Regions from separate parts of the Homo sapiens genome. Here all the other regions are linked to region 1. The links are contacts of gene promoters, found by promoter capture Hi-C in blood cells and fetal thymus (Javierre and others, 2016). All regions are on one chromosome and are shown on one strand. The core of a region is centred on a gene start or on the middle of the fragment in contact, and the rest is flanking DNA. Distances in the headings are between cores, read along the strand shown.

The links. The method cuts DNA at HindIII sites, captures the fragments that hold promoters and counts their contacts. A CHiCAGO score of 5 or more calls a contact.
Region 2: a contact is called between a fragment that was not itself captured here and the fragment with the promoter of DNAJC10 in region 1, in 1 of 17 cell types (M1 macrophages). The highest score is 6.5, in M1 macrophages.
Region 3: a contact is called between a fragment that was not itself captured here and the fragment with the promoter of DNAJC10 in region 1, in 1 of 17 cell types (monocytes). The highest score is 9.0, in monocytes.
Region 4: a contact is called between a fragment that was not itself captured here and the fragment with the promoter of DNAJC10 in region 1, in 1 of 17 cell types (endothelial precursors). The highest score is 5.0, in endothelial precursors.
Region 5: a contact is called between a fragment that was not itself captured here and the fragment with the promoter of DNAJC10 in region 1, in 3 of 17 cell types (M2 macrophages, M0 macrophages and endothelial precursors). The highest score is 6.4, in M2 macrophages.

The regions. Positions count from the first base shown.
Region 1 is chr2:182,714,893-182,717,631 of GRCh38, reverse strand. DNAJC10 (DnaJ heat shock protein family (Hsp40) member C10) reads right to left here and starts at 1,375. Exons shown (of 24, transcript NM_018981.4): 1 at 1,149-1,375; 2 at 560-616. It also overlaps a transcript of PDE1A not described here. RefSeq lists a silencer at 983-1,142 and enhancers at 704-1,308, 1,653-1,722, 1,743-1,892. The HindIII fragment of the contact is 1,821 bases long and covers 822-2,642 here.
Region 2 is chr2:181,913,428-181,916,166 of GRCh38, reverse strand. It overlaps ITPRID2 (ITPR interacting domain containing 2), which reads right to left. Exons shown (of 18, transcript NM_001130445.3): 10 at 2,234-2,322; 11 at 1-951. Among named protein-coding and RNA genes, the nearest start is that of ITPRID2, 23 kb to the right of the region's middle. The HindIII fragment of the contact is 4,193 bases long and covers 1-2,739 here.
Region 3 is chr2:181,932,372-181,935,110 of GRCh38, reverse strand. No RefSeq gene overlaps it. Among named protein-coding and RNA genes, the nearest start is that of ITPRID2, 42 kb to the right of the region's middle. RefSeq lists a silencer at 2,543-2,739. The HindIII fragment of the contact is 8,454 bases long and covers 1-2,739 here.
Region 4 is chr2:182,161,382-182,164,120 of GRCh38, reverse strand. The region is part of intron 13 of PDE1A (phosphodiesterase 1A); the gene reads left to right. Among named protein-coding and RNA genes, the nearest start is that of PPP1R1C, 180 kb to the right of the region's middle. The HindIII fragment of the contact is 753 bases long and covers 968-1,720 here.
Region 5 is chr2:182,178,957-182,181,695 of GRCh38, reverse strand. The region is part of intron 13 of PDE1A (phosphodiesterase 1A); the gene reads left to right. Among named protein-coding and RNA genes, the nearest start is that of PPP1R1C, 190 kb to the right of the region's middle. The HindIII fragment of the contact is 2,372 bases long and covers 235-2,606 here.

The sequences.
Region 1 (2,739 bases), core at 126-2,625:
TCTTTCTACCCAGTTATAGCGTTGCCTGTAATACCTCTTCCTTTTAGCTACTTCTTTACCTCCTAAAGCTGTCTAATTTTCATTTTCAGCAGAATTCACTTGTAGGAAATGTCCTTGGGAGGGACTAGAAGGAAACATAGGGTTTTTTACTTCTCATATAACCCTACCAGAAATGACAGTGAAATATATTGTTATAATAGACAATCTACACAGCAGTCGATCTTCTTCCCGGAGTTTCCTCAGAAGGTGCTTATACTGAATTTAAGTAGAGGCCATTTTTTAAAAATAGTAGAAAAACAATTGTAAGTTACCAGTGTAATTTTATTGCAAAGTTCATGTTTGGTGTAAGTAGAAACAAAACACAAAAAGAGAAGGGAATCGGTTATTTAGACATACTCTCTGCAGGGCAAAAACAATCATTACTTCATCATATCACATTTCAACCACTATATTTTAGTTCCAAAGAGATCGTAATGCTTTGAAAAATCTAACGCTCCTCGCACCTCATTTCTGTTTTTCATTTAATCCTAAATGTATATTTAAAAATTTTTCTCTTTACCTGTGAATGGTCTTCAGCTCATTTCTAATACTTCCTTTTCATTCCACAAAAATATACCTTTGAAAAATATAATGATGTAGAGATTAACAAGTATCCAAACAAGAAAACAACCATCAGAAAAAGAGAGGGCATAGTCTCAATCAACACTTTGGGATAAGATGTTTCTCGCCCAGGGGTTGTTCTCAGCGTGGGTGTGGCCGAACTGCCCGTGGCCCGAGCTACCGGGCAGGTGGAAGCGCCAGGTAAATGCAAGGCGCAAGCTTTCGCATTGCCATCACTGCAGAGTGGGAGAGGGGAGAGGGGTAAAGATGAAGACACGGGGGAACAGGGCTGTTAAGTGTTGCTGGTGTCTGAAGTCTCAGGTCGGACTTAGGGAGAAAGTGTAAGTAACTGAGAGGGAATCGCTGGGCAGAGGAAGGGTGGTGTGAATAACAGGGAGGAGGAAGGTGGGGAGCGAGAACACAATATCCAGGTCTTAAGAGCGCACAGGAAGGGAGGTTCAGGCGCTCAGCCATTCCGCCCCTCCCTGACCGGAGGGCCCAGGCCACCACCGGCTCCAGCAAAGCCCTAGCCCCGGGCCCATGCCCACCTTGCCATCGCGGGGTCGCTTCCTGTAGCTACTCCCCCATCCTCAAACCCTGGCGGCGGACCCCGCCTGGCCGAGCCCAAGCACCGCGTGCAGGAGAGAAGCACACGCACTCTCCGACGGCCCAGCCGCGGCGCACGGGATTGGTGAGGTGCAGCCACACCGGCGACTACCAGCGCGCGGCCGGTACCGGTAGGTTCCTCACGCGCCGGTCTCCACGGCGAGCCGGGGCGGGGCCTGGCGCGGAGCATTGTGGGAAAGGCGTGGAGGACGCTGCCTGGGGAGACCCGCTGCGGGCCCAGCGGGCGCTGCGGCGGTGGGGTGGAGAGGGCGGTGTAGGTTTAGGTTGACGTGGCGGTGTGCGCGGGATCCGGCTCCGGCTCCGGCTCCAACCCGGAGCTGAGGGAACTGCCCTGGCCAAGCAGCCCGCGCCCCCTCACCAATGCGGCCGGCGCCTGCCGCGGGCGGGGAGGGTGGATGGCGAAGCCCGCCTCTTCCTGCTTCCGTTGCCAGGGTGACGGGGAAACCCAGAGGGTGGGTTTTGGGGTTGAGTTCCCTGAGAGTCTTTTAAAGGGAAGACGGAGCTTTGGAGGATTTGTCTGGGTGATGGGTGGGTGAGACCGAAAGGCGAAATTTGGCGGAGAAAGGAGAAGTTGCCTGAAGCGACACTGATTGCAGTATCAGGCTAGCGGACTGAAGAGGCAGTAGGAAACTTGAAGGAAATTAAAACATTTACAATTTTGTGTAAGCGTGTGTATCAACAAGCATTTGAGACTTCTACAATATTTTCTGGATTCTGAGTCATACAAGCTAGAAACTGGGGAGTTATCGTTGTTCTCTCTTACCTTGATCTCCTACTGCTATGGTACAGGAACTGCATTTTGTCCCACAGCAATATAACAATTGAAGTGGTTATATTTACTACATTTTCTATATTTAAAAGAGAAAACCGAGCCTAGAGGATACCTGCTTATAACATCAACCCTAACATGAAATAAGTTGTGATTGGTAACAGTTTCGGGGAGTAAATCAAGTGTCAGCTTCTAAAAACTTGGAAAACTACACAGGATCTATGGCTAAGCTAATACTTGGTAGGAAAGAAGAGGAAGTAGAATGAACAAAGGCAAACATTAGAAGCAGCCTGATGTAATAGTAGTTAATATGTCTCAGGAACTGGTCTAAGCACACATGTAGTAACTCATTTAGTCCTCCAAATAATCTTACAAGATAGTGGCTCCTATATCTATTTCCCATTTGAGGAAACTGAGGCAAATATTTGAGAGCTAGGATTCACATCTAAGCAACCTGGCTTCAGAGACTATGATGTTAAGCATTATGACACAGTGTGTAACCATTTTGTTACACACTGTAACAAAATCTTAAAGTAAATTGAAAAACAAACAGAAAACTGGAAGATGAAGCAGGGACCAGATCACAGACAGGTTTTTATACCAAGATGAAGACATAGATTTCTATCTCTTAGGTGATGAGGAAGCTTTTAAAAAAGAGACTGAGATTGTATTTTAGATCATCCTGGCAGCTATTGGAGAGAGGATGCAAAGCATACAAAACTGGAGAAAGAACAGGAGAATGT
Region 2 (2,739 bases), core at 114-2,613, 800 kb after region 1:
AGACTGAGACATTGGTGGTGGAGCAAGCCGTGAACAGGTAGGAGTCCTTCCATGATGGCATTCCTCCACCCGCGGCGCCTCACTCTGGGGGGCTTCTTCTTTCTTCACAGATGATGGAGAGATGAAAATGGTCGATTTAACTAAAGACTGACCATCATGTTCCATCACCCGCTTTTCCAATTCCTGCTCCTCTTCAGGTGTGTACTTATAGGTGAAGGAAGGTGGGCTGCATCTGGTCTCTTTTCCTGGAGATAATCGAACATTGACAGAGGACACAACCCTTACTGGGCTCAATAAGGTGGTTGGTAAAGACTGAGACCTTCTTAGAGGATAGCCAGCTTTTGCAAATAAGTACCTTTGTTTTAACAAATCTTTTGATTTTAGCAGGCTACGCCCCATCCTTTGATTAGACAGACTGCAAACCTTCATTTGAGCTCTTTGCAAAGCTGTATTAACTCTGTCCATGGAAGAGGGAGGCCCAGTTGTATTTTCAGAGCTCATATCACTGCATTTAGCTTCAATAGAAGCCAATGATTTCAGAATATGGTGTGTGGTATACTGAGTAAATTCACTTTCACTGCTTTTACCCACATCACTTTCAGCACTTGCTTCCCTCAGTAGCTCTACTGTCTCTGCTGGAAACAAATCCTCTTCCACTTCAGTAATTTCAATGATATGATCCCCTGGACTACAGGTGGACTGTTTAGTTCCTGTATTCTCAATGGTGTTGCACTGAGGGAAATCCTGGCTACCTGATTTTCTTTTGTCTGCAACTGCTGCTGCCTTCTCTAGTCCCTTCTGAAGAGGGACAAGAGACTCCTCCTCTGATTCATTAAAATAAGGCTGGTCTTGTGCTGTTGGTGTGGCAAGGTCTTCACCAAGTGACGTAACTGTTGTCTCACTGTCACAACTATCAGCACTACTCCCCATAGCCTGCAAGGACTCCTGAACCTGTGAAAAGAAAATAGGTGGAAAGATGAAGAATATATGTAAGAAGAGTCACTAACAAAATACCAAACCAACATGGTGCTTCTATAATTTCACTGTCTCCACTGCAGTTGTGGCCCTGCTGTTGCTCAAAATTGTTTTATTGCTCCTGAGCAGCAACCACATCCCTCCTTCCTCTCACTTTCTCACAAAGATTATTTCAGAACTTCACTGTTTTCCTAAAATTCCCTTTCCAACAACCTCCCCCTTTCCTTTCAATACAACACACTGACTCATAGAGAAAATGGACAAACACTTCCTAACATTCTTCCCCAACATCTAAAAACTTCCTTGTATCTCTCCCCATCATTCCCTCCTTCTCTCCATTCTGAAAGGAAACTCAAAGCGAATCCCTCCAACCTGGGTTCCTGATCATATCCTCTCCAAGACCAGGGTATCTCTCCAGTTTCAGCCCGGATTTTTCTGAATCAGTTCTTCTCTTACGGTTATTTCCCTTAGCTGAACACTTTCCCCAAGTCATTTCATGTTATTATAAAAGGACAAAAAGACCCCTCACTCTTAAGCTATCATTCATATTTGAAAACCAGTCAACATTCCTATCTTTTCTTCCATACCTTCTGAAAGTTTCTCCTCCATCTCCCAGTGTTTCTGTTCACTTAATTACTCTTTCTCAGTGAACTTACATATGCCTCTTGTCTGTTTACCCCTTAAATGCTATGTTCCTAAAGGCTCTTTGGGAGTTTTCTCATCCCAATTTTCTTTAGAATTTGCTTAAAAAATGTTTCAAATGCTTTTTCTGTGCATTCTGTGTACTCTACATATAGACTATATGCTTCTTGGGGATAAAGATGTGCCTGTTCTCTGGGTTATCTCACACAACCTAGTGTAAAAATCAGTATAACACTCAGCAAGCTATAGGTCCACAATTAATGTCAGTTATTAAATAGGCAAAACAATTACTGTAAAATAATGAAATATAATGATGGTTAAAAAAATAAGAAAAACAACAGACAAAACAGGTTAATGATCACAATAATCTCTGTTTACTGGTGGTCCAAAAATTAAGGGGAAGATAGATATTTTTAAAAACATATTCAGAGAGAAGAATTAATGAAATCTAAAATTTATAGTCAAATGCTTAGATAACATCTACATGCCAGGAGTTTTGTTCTGTCACTTGAAAAATAAAGATTATACAGACTCAATATTAAAATATATAGTAATACAAAAACCACCTTAAAATGAGGAAGTTAATCATAGTGCCTATTAGAACAGAAAATTTTACCTGAAGATGATTAAGGGATAGGCAGTCTGTAGAATCTTCAGCAAAACCACTGCTATCGGAATGCTGACTTGCAGTACGTAACAGATGATCTATGAATAAAAAAATGTGGCTATAAGAAACAGATGATCTATAAATAAAAAAAGTGGCTATAAGAAATTACTGAGAGCAATATTACTACAGAGATATGATTCCCAGCAGATATAAGATACACAATATTTGACTGCTTCTTAGAAAAATATGCATTACTTATGCAAAATTATGTCTTCAAAGTACAGGAGGTAACTCAAATTCAAACAAAAACTGTATCAGATCTTCTATTAGAATCTCTCGGTATTCGCTCATTAATTAAGCTCTAATTATAATCTATTTTGGTAAATCCAATCAATGTTTTATCCTTGGAGGAAAACTGAAGTAAAAGATGGCTCTAATAAAAACAGAAGTCCCAAAGTAAACCATTTCCATTATGTAAATATGTAAAGATATTTAGGAGGTAAATTTAGAAGTTC
Region 3 (2,739 bases), core at 133-2,632, 780 kb after region 1:
TTAGAGGAGAAGAGAGGATAGGAAGGACAGCGAAATGTCTGCCTCAAGCGCTTTCACCCATGGCCAAGCCCCATGAAGATGTGTCTGAAAGCAGAAATGACCTAAGATTCTTTCACAAGGGATTCATATGAGAAAGCTGGGTTATAAGCAATGCTGCTATGCTGCTAAGGTAGTAAGGGGTAATTCAGCAAGAGAAGCACTCCCTCCACTTCCATACAGTGTGTTATCATCATAACCTTGGCCGATTGAGGACCCCAGCAGAAGGGCAGGGGAGCACTGGGTCCCTCAACAGAGAGAGCAAGAGAAGAGCAAAGCACTTAGAATTGACGTATTAGGACTGTCATGAAGATGTATGAATAACTCTCGGGGAGCCCCAATATTAATGCATGAGATTTAGGAGAGGAACATATCTTTCAACACATGATGGAAAAAGAAAAATATATCTGTCATCATTAATGCATTCCCATTTGTCATCACAGACTAAAGAAGATTGGGTAAACACATCATCTTATTGAAATGTCTATATTTTACAGATATCAATAGGTTAATAACAATGCAAGTCCTTTTTGACTAAACATAAATCAAGACATTCACAACTGAGATTTAACTGATGACCCTGCTGATTCTATCAAGAGCAGTCTCTGCCCAGGCACAGAGTTCTAACAGATATTTGTGAATCTACTCCTCAGATGTCTGCTTTATACTTCAGGGGCCTTTTTCTTTTTTATCTTGGACTGCTGAAATAATAAAATTATTTGAGATGTACCGAAGCAAAACCATGAATCATCAGTACATGGATTTACTAAACAATTAACTCAGGAACACGAATAAGAAATTAGTGTGCTCTGCAGAGGTGAAATATCATGAATCTCTCTGAAAGGAATGATAAACTCCTTCAAACTCCAACGGCTATAAATAAATTCCATATCCCAGATCCGATCTCTTTCTGCAGCATCTCTAGACTAATTCTTTTTTGGGTCTCATTCTGGTTCTTGACTGGTTGATTCTAGAAGCACTCAGATGGTCTTTGCATTTTCTCAACATCCAATCTACACAATATAAGGACTTACTATTCATTGCCATCAACAGCAATCAGCAATTTTTTTTCTTTTACTGTGATCATTCGTTGGCCATTGCACAATTCCACAATGCCTTGGGTGGGCCCTCCTGAGGTCTCCTTTCTATGTGCTTTGCTTACATTTGTTCTTCATTTTGAACTTTGGCTATAATGAAAAGTTTCTTGAAGGGGCCTGTAAGATGACGTACCCTTGGAGATTAAAATCCTTTTCCTACTTAACAATTTCCTTCCTTTGAAGCATCTAGCAGACAGGTAGTGAAGACCTACTATCCTAAGTCCTTGCTACTAAAGTGCAGTCCATGGCAGCACCATCAACCTCACCTGGGAGCTTCTTGAAATGCAGAAATTCAATCCTAGAAGGTAGGACCCAGACCTCAATCAGAATTTTCCTTTTTACAGATTCTCAGGTAATTTGATTTGTATGATTAAAGTTTGAGAAGCACTGTTCTAAATGGTATTCCATGACCAGTTTTTTGGTTTCAAATAACAAAATTTCTTGAAAATGTTAAAACCAGTAATTAATGTTCACCTGCTATATCAGAATCGGCAGTCTGGTACCAGTTCCTAGTTCAACTGCTTGAAAGAACACATTAAAGTTGAAAAGGTCAGTCCTGGATCTATAAGTCCATATTCTGTCCTTCCCATTTAATGCTTTGACTTGCCAAAACTCATCTACCTGTCACCTATCTTTACCCATCTTTGCTATCACCATAACAGCTAACTTACTGAGCTGTGCCAAGCGCTGTGCAAAGTTCCTTTACATTCTTCTCTATCAACTGAGAAACAGGTACTAATACTACCATGATAGAGTGAGCAAATAAGCTCATTGTTCACAAAAATTTAAGTCTTTCTCCTTTGGGTGTGCAGAAAGACCCTTGTGAGGAAAATGGACTCTGATATTTGTCTGATATGCATTATCTTTTAATATATTTGTAACTCCCTGCTGAGCACTGACATTCTGTATGCAAGTTATTACTTATGATTTGTGACAGTATTATTTATTACACTGACACTGTATATAAACTGTTATTTACTCAATATGACTAATGGAACATCAGTTGTGGAAATGAGAACAAAAAGGAAAAGGCCTCATTCAATAGCAATACATAGAAGAAACTGTATAGGAGAGGAACTATTAGTTATGACATTTTAACTTTATACATTTAGAATGCAATTAGAATAAGTGCTAATTAAATGTTTCCAATATTCATAAGTAACTCTAAGTGATGCTTAAAAGTGTAGACCCTCAGCTTCAATTAAAAGGTGATAGGATGTTTCCTCTTCCCACTTCCTAGGAGTGCTATAATTTCCTTCTTTCCAGGAGAGGAAAAATTCTAGAAGAACATACACTTCAGTTTTGCTTAATTCCTTCCCTAAGACCACACTCCCATTTGTACAGGTGAAGAACATGGGCAATGCAGCAATTCTCCAGAAACTGCCCAAACTTACGTTCTCTTTACATTCTTTTATATACACTTTACTGCATTCTTATGTTCCTCTGAAAAGGTTGAAGATGGCCAGCTGAGCAAATATTCGGTACTTTTAAATGTATGAAATTCAACTGAATATATTTAGAGGAAAGAAATGTACTTCAAATCTGAGAATTTTTCAAATGTACTTCAAATCTGAAATGTACTTCAAAATCTGCCTGTTTTTCTCAT
Region 4 (2,739 bases), core at 95-2,594, 550 kb after region 1:
CTTAATGGGCCAAATAACACCCAGTTAATGGTAGGTAGTTCAGGTCACATGGTAATTTGCTGGCCCAAGGCCAAGCATTCAGCTTTTACTAAGGCCTAGTAGCAGGTCAAGAGCTACCTCGCAAAAGGAGAGTAGTTATCTGCAGATGATGCCAGGCCTCATTCCAGAATCCTAAAGACCTCTATTGTGATTCACCTGTAGGGCCCTGCCAAAGACTCCAAACAGCATACCTATCTGCCACTGATACAGCAAGGACCATTGGAGCTCTTGGGTCACATGGCCCAAGTGGCAGAGCAGCTTGCATAGCAGCCTGGACTTGTTGCAGTCTTTTCCTGTTCTGTGCCCCACTCATAACTAGCAGTTTTTTGTGTCACCCAGTAAATGGGCTAGGGTAACACACCCAAATATGTCGCCTTTATAATCCAAATAGGTCCACTAGGAATTGTGCTTCTTTCTCAGTTATAGGAGGGGCCAGATGCAACAACTCTTTACTTTAGAAGGGTTATCTCCACAGGCCCTGCACCACTGGACCCTTAGAAATTTCACTGAAATGGAAGGCCCCTGAAGTTTAGTTGGATTTATTTCCTGCCCCCTGACAATGCACATGTCTTGCCAATAAATCCACAGTGGTTGTTACTTCTTGCTCACTAGGTCCAATTAACATAATATCATCAATGAAGTGAACAGGGTGATAGCTTGTGGAAGGGAAAAGCAATCAGGATCCCTGCAAAATAGATTATGACATAGGGCTGAAGGGTTGGTATACCCCTGAGGTAGGAGGGCAAAGGTATATTGCTGGCCTTGCCAGTGAATCAAATTGCTTCTGGTGGGCCTTATGGACAGGTATGGAGAAAAAGCATTTACCAGAACAATAGCTGCATAACAGGCACCAGATGTGTTAATGTGTTCAAGAATGAAACTACATTGGGTGTAGCAGTTGCAATTAGAGTCACGACTTGGGTAAGCTTACAATAAGCCATTGCCATTCTCCAGGATCCATCTGTCTTCTGTACAAGCCAAATAGGAGAGTTGAATGGGGACATGGTGAAAATCACCACCTCTGCATCTGTCAAGTCCTTGATGGTTGCACTAGTCTCTGCAAACCCTTCAAGAATGCTACCTTGTTTTCTATTTACTATTGTCTTAGGTACAGGCAGTTCTAATAGCTTCCATTTGGCCTTTCCTATCATAATAATCTTCACCCACTAGTTAGGGAACCAATGTGGGGATTCTGTCTGCTGCTAAGTCTGTCTATTTCAATAATGCATTTTGAACTGGGGAAATAACTACCTTATGGGTTCGGGGACCACTGGACCTGAGCTAAAGCTCCATGAATCACCTGACTCCCCTAACCTCTACTATAACTGGAGGGCCACAGTGATGTTTTCAGTCTCTTGGGATCAATGTCAGTTCAGAGCCAGTGGCCAGTCATCCCTGAAAAGCCTGATTATTTTCCTTTCCCTGATACAAGGCCAGAGGTCCCTTTGGGGAAGTATAAGAGAAAGATTAACAGTATAAATTTTATGTAGTGCACCAGAGTCTTTCCTCAACAGGACCTGGTCTCCCCTTCACTTAAAGGGCTCTGGGTCTGTAAACTGGCTCAAGTCTAGAAATTGATTGAGGGGCAGTGATTCCCTGTTGTCAAGATTTGAGTTAGACTTTTCTTCACTTGACCCAGAAATTTTGTGCTTCTACAGTTCAAGTAAGAGCATAGTAAGCTTCCCATCTATTTTACTTCTAGGAACATCATGATTAATTAGCCAGTGCTGGAGGTCTACACAAGTCAGATTATTCTGATTGTTGCTTTGCCTCTGCTGTTAATTCCAGTAACTACGCCCACCTTGCCTTTGACATTTGAGTGCCATCGCTTGGCTCCTGCCACCCAGGGATCCAATTATTCCCATTGCATTTGTTTTCTAATTGAGTGATTGTAGTTCCCACTATAAGTTCTGGAATGCAGAGAAGAGCAATCACAGAGATCTTTAAGGATGCTGGTGCTCCCCTCACAAATTTATTTCTTAAAATATTAGTGAAAGGTGTATCTTCTGGACCCTCCCAGTGTGGGGGAGTAGGTTTTATGTGACAAGTCCACTGTATCATTCCAATTTCCTTAAGCCTTTTAATTCCCTCCTCTAAATGAAACCAAGGTAGATCAGGCATCCCCAGCTCACTCCTGGGGTGGTCTATTTTTTGATCCATGTTTCAGCCAGTCAGCCAAATAAACTTATAGTGCCTGTTTTCACTCCTTGAGCTTCAATATTAAATGCAGAATATATGCTTAGTGGGCTCATATCAATAAATTTGACCTTATTCTTTGTTTCTTCCACCATAATCCCACATCCTTAATATCCATTCCCACGCATGTTTCTTGGATTTCTGCTGGTATCAGTTAGAACACTCAAGTAGTTCTTTTGGAGTATAGCGCACCTCCTTGTGGGTCACACTCTGAACCTCCCCTCTGGGATTTCAGTCTAGTTACAGGTTTAGAAGCAAAGAGGGGTGGTAGGGGTGGGTCTCAAGGAGAATCAGCATTGTCTTGCCCGGCAACTGCTGCAGGGGAGACCATTACTCTTTTTTCTGACAATGCAGTTAATCCCAGAGAGGGGTGGAAAAGAGATACCATTGTGGGTGGGGGTGCCACTGCCTCTGGAGGTGGAGAGGACAGTCACCTTGGCAAAAAATACTCTTCAGAATTTACGAGCTCAATGCCCCCCATCAGGATCATCCCACACATCTCCA
Region 5 (2,739 bases), core at 171-2,670, 540 kb after region 1:
AGCACCTGAAGGGAGAGGCAGCTGCAGTCGCAGGGTCAGCGGATTTAATCTTTCCTGTCTGCTGGCTCTGAAGAGAGCAGCTGACCCTAACAAGGGGGACTCTCCCAGCAGAGTGCACCAGTTCTGCTAAGGGACAGACTGCCTCCTCAAGCAGGTTCCTGACTTTGCGCCTCTTGACTGGGAGAGACCTCCCAACAGGGATCAATAGACACCTCATACAGGAGAGCTGAAGCTTCCAGAGGAAGGAGCAGACAGCAATCTTTGATGTTCTGCAAACTCCATTGGTGAAACCTAGGTGACAGGGTCTGGAGTGGACCCCCATCAAACTGCAGCAGACCTGCAGAAGATGGGTCTAACTGTTAGAAGAAAAAGTAACAAACAGAAAGCAACAACAACAAAAGCATCAACAAAAAAGACCTCCTACAAAACCTCATCCAAAGGTCATCAGCTTCAAAGATCAAAGGTAGATAAATCCATGAAGATGAGGAAGAAACAGTGCAAAAACGCTGAAAATTCCAAAAGCCAGAATGCCTCTTCTCCTCCAAATGATTGTAACACTTCTCCAGCAAGGACACAGGACTGGACAGAGAATGAGATAGATTAATTGACAGAAGTAGGCTTCAGAAGGTGGGTAATAACAAACTCTGCTGAGCTAAAGGAGCATGTTCTAACCCAATGCAAAGAAGCTAAGAACATTGATAAAAGGTTACAGGAGCTGCTAACTAGAATAACCAGTTTAGAGAGGAACATAAATGACCTGATGGAGATGAAAAACACAGCACAAGAACTTCATGAAGCATACACAAGTATCAATAGCTGAATAAATCAAGCAGAAGAAAGGATATCAGAATTTGAAGACCATCTTGCTGAAATAAGGCATGCAGACAAGATTAGAGAAAAAATAATGAAAAGGAATGAACAAAACCTCCGAGAAATGTGGGACTATGTGAAGATACTGAAGCTACGATTGATTGGAGTACCTGAAAGAGACTGGGAGAATGGAATCAAGTTGGAAAACACACTTCAGGATATTATCCAGGAGAACTTCCCCAACCTAGCAAGACAGGCCAACATTCAAATTCAGGAAATACATAGAACACCACTAAGATACTCCATGAGAAGATCAACGCCAGGACACGTAATTTTCAGATTCTCCAAGGTTGAAACAAAGGAAAAAATGTTTAAGGGCAGCCAGAGAAAAAGGTCAGGTCACCTACAAAGGGAAGCTCATCAGACTAACAGCAGATCTCTCAGCAGAAACCCTACAAGCTAGAAGAGAGTGAGGGCAATATACAATATTCAATATTCAACATTCTTAAAGATAAGAATTTTTCAACCTAAAATTTCATATTATTAGAAATAAGTAGAATTTTACTTCCTAGATTGGGCACTAGACACACAAAAGTTCATTTTATCATTATGATTATGATTATGTCTAACATGTGCTTTATATATGTATCTATAATTCATTTATATACATGAAATATTGCATAAAAATGAAACAATGATAAGCTATTAAAATGCATCTACTAACATAGTGATCAATTTTAAAGTCACTGAGTATCAGATATTGCCATTTTAATTTTCCAGTACCTACCACTTCTAGTCTTATACGCTGAAGATGAAAGTTTCTTTATTACAATTGCATTGAGATTAAAATAAGCAGGTCATATGATGTTTAGAGCTTTGGAATATTAATTAAGCATCAGGGCTTTGAAGAGAATTCCAGATGTTTGCTCATCATCATATTAACCCTTAAGCTCTATTTCACAGATATCGCAAAAACATCTCCCTAGTCCTAGAGCAGGGAGAGACTGTTGACCTATTATGCTTCATTTTTATTATCTACTTCACCCTCTTAAAAATAAGGTTCATTAAAATAAAGATGTTTGTTTCCATTGCTGATGTATCCCAAGCTCTTTGAACAGAGACTGGCACAAAGTAGAAATTCAAATGATTATCTGCAGTAGGCAGGGAAGAAAGAGAGAGACAGAGCGCAAGAGGGAGGACGAGAGAGGAGGGGGTAGAGAAAGGAGGAGAAGGGAAGAAGGAAGGAGAGAGGTAGAAAACCTACCATCTAGGCCCCAAAATATGAAATATATGATCTTGCCATGCCCTTGGAATTCTCTCTATGCCTTCTCTAATCATTTATTTCCTTCTCTCCCACCCATGAGCTAATTATTGTTTTGAATTTTGTGATAATCATTCTTTTTTTAAGCTGTTATCCCTCTTTGTATAATTTTAAACAATGTATAATTTAGTTTTGTCTGTTTTAAAACAATATAAATGGAACTGTGCCATATACATTCCTTTGTGAATTGCTTTCCACTCAACAAGATGCTTTTTAAAATTTATCCATGACAACACAAATGTTGTTCTGTTTCAGCAGGAGTTTTCTGGATCTTGCAGAAAACATGAGACAGAAAAAAAAATCCAAATACTGTGCAGATACTTTTTAAATATTAGTGTTTTGTTTAAGTCTGTACATATCATATCCTTAGGCCACAAATCAGGTGCATAAATAATATACCCTTCATTATTTCTCTGTGACCAAACATAGTTTCTAGCTATGTCCTCATGCTACCTGTTTGAAGAAAATATAAGCTTATCATTTAAGTGTTTTGACTGAATCAGAGTAAGCCTGGTCAATCCAGGGTTTCTGACCTCTCTTTCCTCCTTCTTTAGATGGCATTGCAGTCCCTGGGGACTAATGTTGTGGTATTAATGGATTTCAGATGA